Linked DNA regions of Homo sapiens: region 2 is linked to region 1. The links are contacts of gene promoters, found by promoter capture Hi-C in blood cells and fetal thymus (Javierre and others, 2016). All regions are on one chromosome and are shown on one strand. Each heading gives the region's core, a stretch centred on a gene start or on the middle of the fragment in contact. The rest is flanking DNA. Distances are from core to core; before and after follow the strand shown. Region 1 holds the start of KLF8 (KLF transcription factor 8). Region 2 overlaps NBDY (negative regulator of P-body association).

Region 1 (3,597 bases), core at 484-2,983:
TTAGGGTTAAAAAAAAAAGCCCACAAAAAGACAGCTCCGCCAAGTGGCTAAACAAATGGATTCACTTCAGCAATCACAGCAACTCGGCCCAGTCAGTCTTCCACCTACACAGACGAACCAACTGCCTTGGCCACGTCTTAAAGGGCCGGAGCAGAGCCTAGGCTCTGGCTTCCTTCTCCAACCAAGCTCAGCCCCTCCTTAAAGAGCTGGCACGCCCAAAGCAGCTCCTCCCCCGCAGCTGCTTCCAGGCCTCACTCTGTGCCTCCAATAGCCTAACTTTGCACCTTAAACCACTGTCCCCTCCTCCTTCTTTTCAGAAGCTTCTCTAGGTACCCGCTATGGCTTCAGGGGGTTACCTGGGAGCTTTGGCCTTGTGAATCCTGTTCTCTCTGGTTGTGACTTTGGCTGTGTGGGGTTAAGTCAAAGACAATCCTTACCGCTTAAGGAGTATTGGGAGTGCCGAGCCAGGGGAGACTAGACTAGACAAATCCATCCATTCTTGCCCCCTTTCACTTCTTCCACCAAGCTCTCTCCTCTCCTTCTTGGCCTTTCTTTGCCCAGCCCTTTAGCAAAGTCATTTTCCCTTGAGTTTCATTTGATTCCACATAGTGTTCTTAACCTTCCGCTCCCGCCCCCACTGCTGAAACCCCAAGTGGGGTGTGTGGGGGGAGCAGGGGGACTGGGAGGGGGATAGAATCTAGACGAAAGAGGTGGGAGTGGGTGGGTATTAGTCCCAGAGTCACTTACCGACCATGTCACTAGCTGAGGACTCCTGAAGTGTCCAGAACTCATGCCGTCCTCCGGGAGGCTCATACTCCTGAGCTGATCGCAAGAGAGCTGTTCCCCTCACACCCGCCCCATTCTGACATAGCGCAGGGCGACGCGTTCTCGTCTTCTCGTTCTTGGGCCCCCACTCCCCTATTTCTCCGGGCTGGAAAATGAGGAGGGGGTCGAAAGGGGAGGGAGTCGATTCAGACCCAGCTGGGCCACTCTCGGAACAAGGGAAACAAAGCTCTCAAGCATCCAACCCAAAAATCAGGGGCCGGCAGAGTAGACTTCCTAAAAAGAATCCTCCCCCCTGCAGCTTTTCCTTGGACAAAAATAAAGTGGGTTCGCTGGGCCGAAGTGGCCAGAGCTTAAGGTCCTCCGTTCCCCTTTTACCTCTACCAATTCAGTTCCGGCCAAGCCCGCTCTCCACCCATCCTCTGAACTCCACACACCCTTTAAAAGGAGAGGGCCGGGGGTGGGGGCTATGAAAACCAACCCAACCCCCAAAGCGCTACTTGAACATAAAGTTGAGGCGGAGAAGAAATCCTTCAAGACAGGAACCCACGAGGAGATACCACAAGAGGATCCCTTCACCGCCGCCGTTGCCGCCGCACACCCCAGCGCCTTCCTAAAAAGAAAGAAGGGAGGAAAAAAATGCCGACGATTGGTAGAATCATAGAGAAGAACACCAGCCCCAGGGCAGGGGCTTCAGCGAAAAATGGCAGCAACTCGTGCGGGTCCTCTGGGGCGGGGTTTCTTGGAGGCACCTAGCTGCCCCACGGGGTACCTCGCGCCCCACGCGAGTCAGAACCTAAAGTGCTCTCTGGGCAACCTGAGTGGGTAGAGTGATTCCGTCTTTCTCTGGCCCTGCTAGGCCCAAAGGAGAGGTGTGACTATCGTGAGGACTCCACCTAGGGTGGAGTTCCTTAAAAAGGACAGGCGGCCGCTAGAGGAGAGTGCAAAGTGGGAGGAGGTGGAGAAGGGTGGGGCTGAGAAGGAGGAGGGAGGAAGGAGGGGGTGGGGCGGGGCCCTGGGCCGACAGAGCTGGCCTCGCCTCCGGCGGCCGCCTCCCTCAGCCTCCAGCAGCGGCAGGTATAATTCCAATCAATTTCACTTCCTTATCTGTCCCAAAATTAAGGCTTGCAAGCACACTGCTTGATTACCTATTTACTCCGGTTATGCTAATTCTCCAGGGGAGGGTGGTGAAACGGGTACTGGGATTGGGGCTGGGGGCTGTCTAAGAGGGAAAGGAGAAAACAAAAAAGCTGACAACTGGAAGCGATATTTATCCTCCTACCTCTCCATGGTAACACGAACAAGGACAGCGAGGTCACAGTGTCTTCTCAGGGAGGAAGCTAAAAGGAACGGAGATTGGAGCTTGGTGCATTTTCTAGCAAGAGATAAGCCAAGGAGGTGAGGGCGAAGGAGTAGGTGGGGAAGAAGAAGGAGTTGAAGATGATCTGTGAATACAGCGTGGCCCAGCAGGGAGACTTAAGAAAGGCTTTCTCAGTCTCCCAGATACCAGACCTCTAAGAATAGAGTTCTCAACCCCCTGAGACCGCCTCTCAGCCAGGCATTGGCGAAGATCCCCGTAAAGCTGAATCCACAGGATAGGAGCCATGTTTCCAGGATTTCTTTACGCTTGCCTGAAAGTCTCTCTCTAGCTCATTTTAATGGGAGGCCAGGAAGTCACAAGCAACCACAGCCCATTTTCAGTGCCTCTTCCCTACCACAATTCTTTTAAAGAGGAGGAAAAAGAAGAGAGACAAGAAACAAAGCAGAGGGAGGAAGAGCAAAGAGACAGGAGAAATAATAATATCTGCCATGTATTCAGCACCTAATATGGGCAAGTCCCTGAGCCAGGTGCTTTTACATTCAACATTTCCCCATTTAGTCCCAATAACAACCCTGGGAACTAGGTACTGTTATATTCTCTGTGCCCTTTATTTAAAAAAATAAGGAAACGGAAGGCCTCAGCCCAGTACTTTCGAACACATAGGTCTACTTACTTAGTTGATATTTCTGCCTGAATGTCTTCTGTGCATCTCATCTACCTTCCTTTCCCCAAAACACTCTGTTCTTCCTCCTGTAGTTCACCAACTACCTGAATGGCACCACCATACATCCAAGGCAGCACCCTGGAACTCATCCTTTAACCTGCTGTGATCTGGCCTTTGTCTGCCTCTCAAGCAGCAGAGATTTTGCTGTTCTCCTGGGCTTTACCTGGATTACAAATCCCTGGGAATTCCAAGCTGTTTCCAATCTCTATGCCTTGGGTTGCTTTACTTTCTCTGACTGAAATAGACTAAGCTCTCTGTCCACCTTTTTTTTTCTTGCATGTCCTTCCAATGAATCTGTCCACTTTCTTGAAAGGACTAACTCAAGGTCATCTCCCCTCCTTACTTAATTTCTTCAGGCAAAACTGACCATTGCTTCCTCTGTGCCCTTCTCTACCTCGGGGCACATATTTGTTGGTATAATTGCCTCCCCCTACTAAACTATAAAGTCCTTGAGCTGAAGCACCAGGCGATCTCATTTCTGTAACTTGGATGCCAAGTTATATTATTATTAACAATAATAATAGTTATTGAGCATTAACTATGTACTAAACTCTGTTGTAAGCCTCTTATGTATATTAACTCATTGAATCCTTCTGACAATCCTATGGGTAGACATTGCTATCCCCATTTTACAGATGTGGAAACTTAGTGACAGGTTAAATAAATACACATGCATATGTATTTGTTTCATAAAAGAATGTCCCTGTAGTAGGGGTTTCATAAATAACTCTCTATCTCACTATATCTCTTCACCACGACCTGCACCCCT
Region 2 (3,597 bases), core at 654-3,153, 530 kb before region 1:
GCAGAATCAGAAGCAGAAGCAAAAGCAAAAAAAGAAAAAGAGGCAAAGGAGAAGGAAGTGCAGGGGGAGGGGGAGGAGGAGTAGAAGGAGGAAAAAGAAGAAAAAGAAAAAGGAGGAGTAGGAAGATAAGAAGGAGTTGGAGGAGGAGGAGCAAGAGGAGAAGGAGGAGAAGGAGAAGAATTAAAGAAGAGGGGTAGGAGGAGGAAGAGGAAGAAGAATCAGAAGGAGAACAGGAAGTGAGAGGTCCATGCCACTGTAGCTGTCCCGAAGGATCTAGTTTAGGAGGGCCTCAACGCGTGGTGACATACAACGAGGGGCACGGAGCCACTTCTGACATCCGGCTTAAAGGACACACAACCAGGAAGCGTCTTGTTGATGGGGTATTTCCTGAGTAAGATCAAAAGCTTTGATCCACAAGTAGGCCTGCAGAAGCTACAGAGAACACAGGTGCTGGCTGAACCTTGCCCTGAAGATGTCATCAGCTGACTGCAAGGGGCTACCAAGCCCCAAGGCTACAAGGCCAAGGCAGGGAAGGACCGCCCAAAAAAGAATAAGATGAAAAACGGGGAGGAATTGGACACCAGGGAAAAGAGATAATCAGCCACCCACTGCAATATGGAGACAGGGCAGAAAGGAGAGGGAAACGCCAATTTCTCCTCGCAGGGGTCAGCTAGAGTCCTACTAATTTCCTTAGGAAAAGTAAGCCTGTTTTCCCTAACGGTGTCCCCGCGCCCAGCTGACCCTGCCTTCCAGTCTGCTCCTGGAGCAGAAGTGGAGAAAAAGTAAAGAGAATGAAGAAGAAAAAAGTGAAGGGAGAAAAACTCCAAAAGTACACAAAGAATCAGTGAGCAATGAGATTGACAGCGAACTGCAATGCAAAGTGCCTCAGATGGACAGCTGGCAGCACTATGAGTGGCCTCTTGTGGCCTCACAGAGGAAGAGCCACCAGCCAGGAGAAAGCATCAGCCCCTCAAGCCCGGGTCTGCACCGCGTGGGCACAGAGGCCTGTTGGGCCAGGAAGCTGCCCTGCTCCCTGTGGCCCCCACCCCTACCCCATCCTACTGTTGCCGGTTCCCCCAAAGTGACCACATAGATGGGAAGCCCTGCTGTAGGTGAGATGGGTGCTCCTAGGCCAGTTTCTTTTTTTTTTTTTTTTTTTTGGTGTTTGTTTTGGTTTTTGGCACCAAAAACAGAAAGAGGGAAAGAAAATGGGGGAAGGGAAAGACAAGACTGCTGTTTGTGGAGCCACATTGCCATCTAGTGGAAGTTGTTTCTGAACACAACAGGATGCACGGACACCTGCCTTCTGCCAGGAACAGAGATCAGCGAGGATGTGCTTAGACTATGTCTAAGCCTGGGTTTCCCCCACCGGGGTTCTGAGCCCTTGAAGGAAGTGTACCTGGCATTGGGACGCTTTGGAGAAGCAACTACTCTAGAGGCCCCAGGACAGAACAGCCAGGCAGCCCCAAGACCAGTCAGCCCAGAGGGCGGAGCTGGCCCGGCAGCCATGTTGAGATGGACATAAACGAAGCCACTGGCCGAGACGGGGGCCGTTTACTCTGGTGTCTTTTGTGGGGAGTTCCGGGGTTCCCTTGGCTGGAGCCACGTGTTGGCAAGGGGGCCCCGATCCTCCCGGGGAACAAAGGAGCTTCGGGATACTGGAGACGTGGCAACCCAGGACCAGCAGTACCTGGAGATGACCAGGGGAACCCATGGTGGGTCGCCCCTACCTGCCCTTTTTTTCGGAGAGAGCTGTGGAACCAGGGAGGCATCCTGGGAATGAGCACAGGCCAAGGGCCAGCTTGGAGTTCCTCTCTTGTCCTGCTTCAGCCTGGGGGCTCCATGCCGCCATCTCTTTTGCGCTCGTGGGGTTTCCCCAGCACTTGTGCCCAGCTGCCTCCGGTTTCTAGATACAGTTTCCGCTTGATGGCAGTATGGCTCCACAAACGCCAACTACAACTGTAACCCTGCCACTTCAACTCCAGGGCCTCCGCCTTTTCCCATGTGAAAAAAGGTAAAGAGGAAAGAGAAACAAAAAAAAAGACAGAGGAGTGAAAGGAATCAGTCACCTGGTCCCAGATTGATCACCAAACTCATGGGACCGTGTGACCAAGGACCAGGACCAGTAGGCTGGAGATCCTGTGGGAATCCTGTTTAGGGAGCCAGCCTTTGCCCTTCCTTTGGCTCTCTGCAGGTTTCATGGCTCTTGCCCGTGCAGAAAGTAAACAACAAAAAACATGATCATTACTGGGACACCACAGGAGGACTAGGATCATAGGGCTACTGCCCCAGGACAAGGTGCTGGTCACCCAGCTGGCTTACACAAGGTTCTGCTGCAGGACTGGGGGTCCTACGAAAGCCTGGAGCTCCAGGTAGAGTTTACCGCCTTGGGCTGACACATGGAGGTCATCAAAATAGGTGGACTGCTCAACTGGAAACCACAGGGCCTGAAGCAGGAGTATCTCTCAGAGAGGACACTCAGCAACTTGCTCAAGTCTGACTCTGCTCAGGCTGTCCTGGGTTTCACACAGATGGGGGTGGGAGGAGGGTGGCTCAGGGGTGCTGGGGAATGCCACCACACACCACAGATTCTTATGGCATCACACAGGGCCAAGGCTCCCAAGGGAACTCTCTCTGTCTCTAACACAAAGTGAGGTTCCTTTTTAAGCAGCTTGACCCAGGATGCTCCAGTTTTACACCAGCTGCTGGATCCTATCTGTTAACAGACTTCCCACATTGATTCTCAGGAGAAGGCGAGAGTTGCCCATCAATCAATGGCATGATGGCCCAGGCCTGGAGTCAGGAATTCTCCCCTGTCTCCTGTTCCCTTTGCACATTTAGAACCTGTGTGGGAGAAATTGTAGGCAGTCTCGTGCCTGTGGTGGTGTGTATGTGTCTGTGTGGGAGAATGCTTGGGCCTGCACCCCTGTGCCCCTGTGAGGTTTCTTGTTTGTGTGTCTATGTGTGTGTTTGTGTGTGTCTGCATGTGTCTCTGTGTGCGGGTGTGTTTGTGATTTCATTTCTGAGGTCCCTAGTGAGTGTGTGTATGTGTATCTGTGTCTATGGTTTGTGGGTGCCTTCCTGTGTGAGAGTGGGTAAACTGGCACATGGCAGAGACAGCCTGCCTGTATACACTGAAATCCGGATAGTTGTGTTCACATGGCTTGACTGGAAGGAGAGGAAATGGGGGAAAACTTGCTGAGGCTCCTACTGGCCAAGATTACATTATTAGATCGTCTTCAAGGAGAACAAGGTAGAAGGATGAATCGTGAGGTACTGGTAGGAAGTGCATTCAGAATGACATTTCACTTAAAAGTAACACATGGGTGGTTTTTTAGAGGACCAGAGGAACTGAACATGTGACCTTCATCTCTGCTCCTTTCAGAACAAAAGTGAAGCTTTCTCCTTGCCTAGCACGCAGAGGGACATCCCCCATTACCAAGGAGCAGAAGAAGCAGTCTCCATAGAACATTTGTCTCGCCAAGATCTGAAAGTGAAAGGAAAAGAGAGAGGAGGAGGAGGAGGAGGGAAGAAAAGAAGAAGAAAAAGGAGGAGGAGGTGGAAAGAAAGAAAGAAAAGAAAAGAAAAGAGAAAGAA

What was found. The method cuts DNA at HindIII sites, captures the fragments that hold promoters and counts their contacts. A CHiCAGO score of 5 or more calls a contact.
Region 2: a contact is called between a fragment that was not itself captured here and the fragment with the promoter of KLF8 in region 1, in 4 of 17 cell types (M0 macrophages, M2 macrophages, M1 macrophages and 1 more). The highest score is 7.3, in M0 macrophages.

The regions. Positions count from the first base shown.
Region 1 is chrX:56,230,492-56,234,088 of GRCh38, reverse strand. It overlaps KLF8 (KLF transcription factor 8), which reads right to left and starts at 1,733. Exons shown (of 6, transcript NM_007250.5): 1 at 748-1,733. The coding sequence starts at 754. The HindIII fragment of the contact is 3,283 bases long and covers 323-3,597 here.
Region 2 is chrX:56,762,266-56,765,862 of GRCh38, reverse strand. All of the region lies in intron 2 of NBDY (negative regulator of P-body association), which reads right to left. Among named protein-coding and RNA genes, the nearest start is that of NBDY, 35 kb to the right of the region's middle. RefSeq lists enhancers at 1,247-1,606, 1,602-2,103, 2,067-2,186, 2,207-2,256. The HindIII fragment of the contact is 2,994 bases long and covers 407-3,400 here.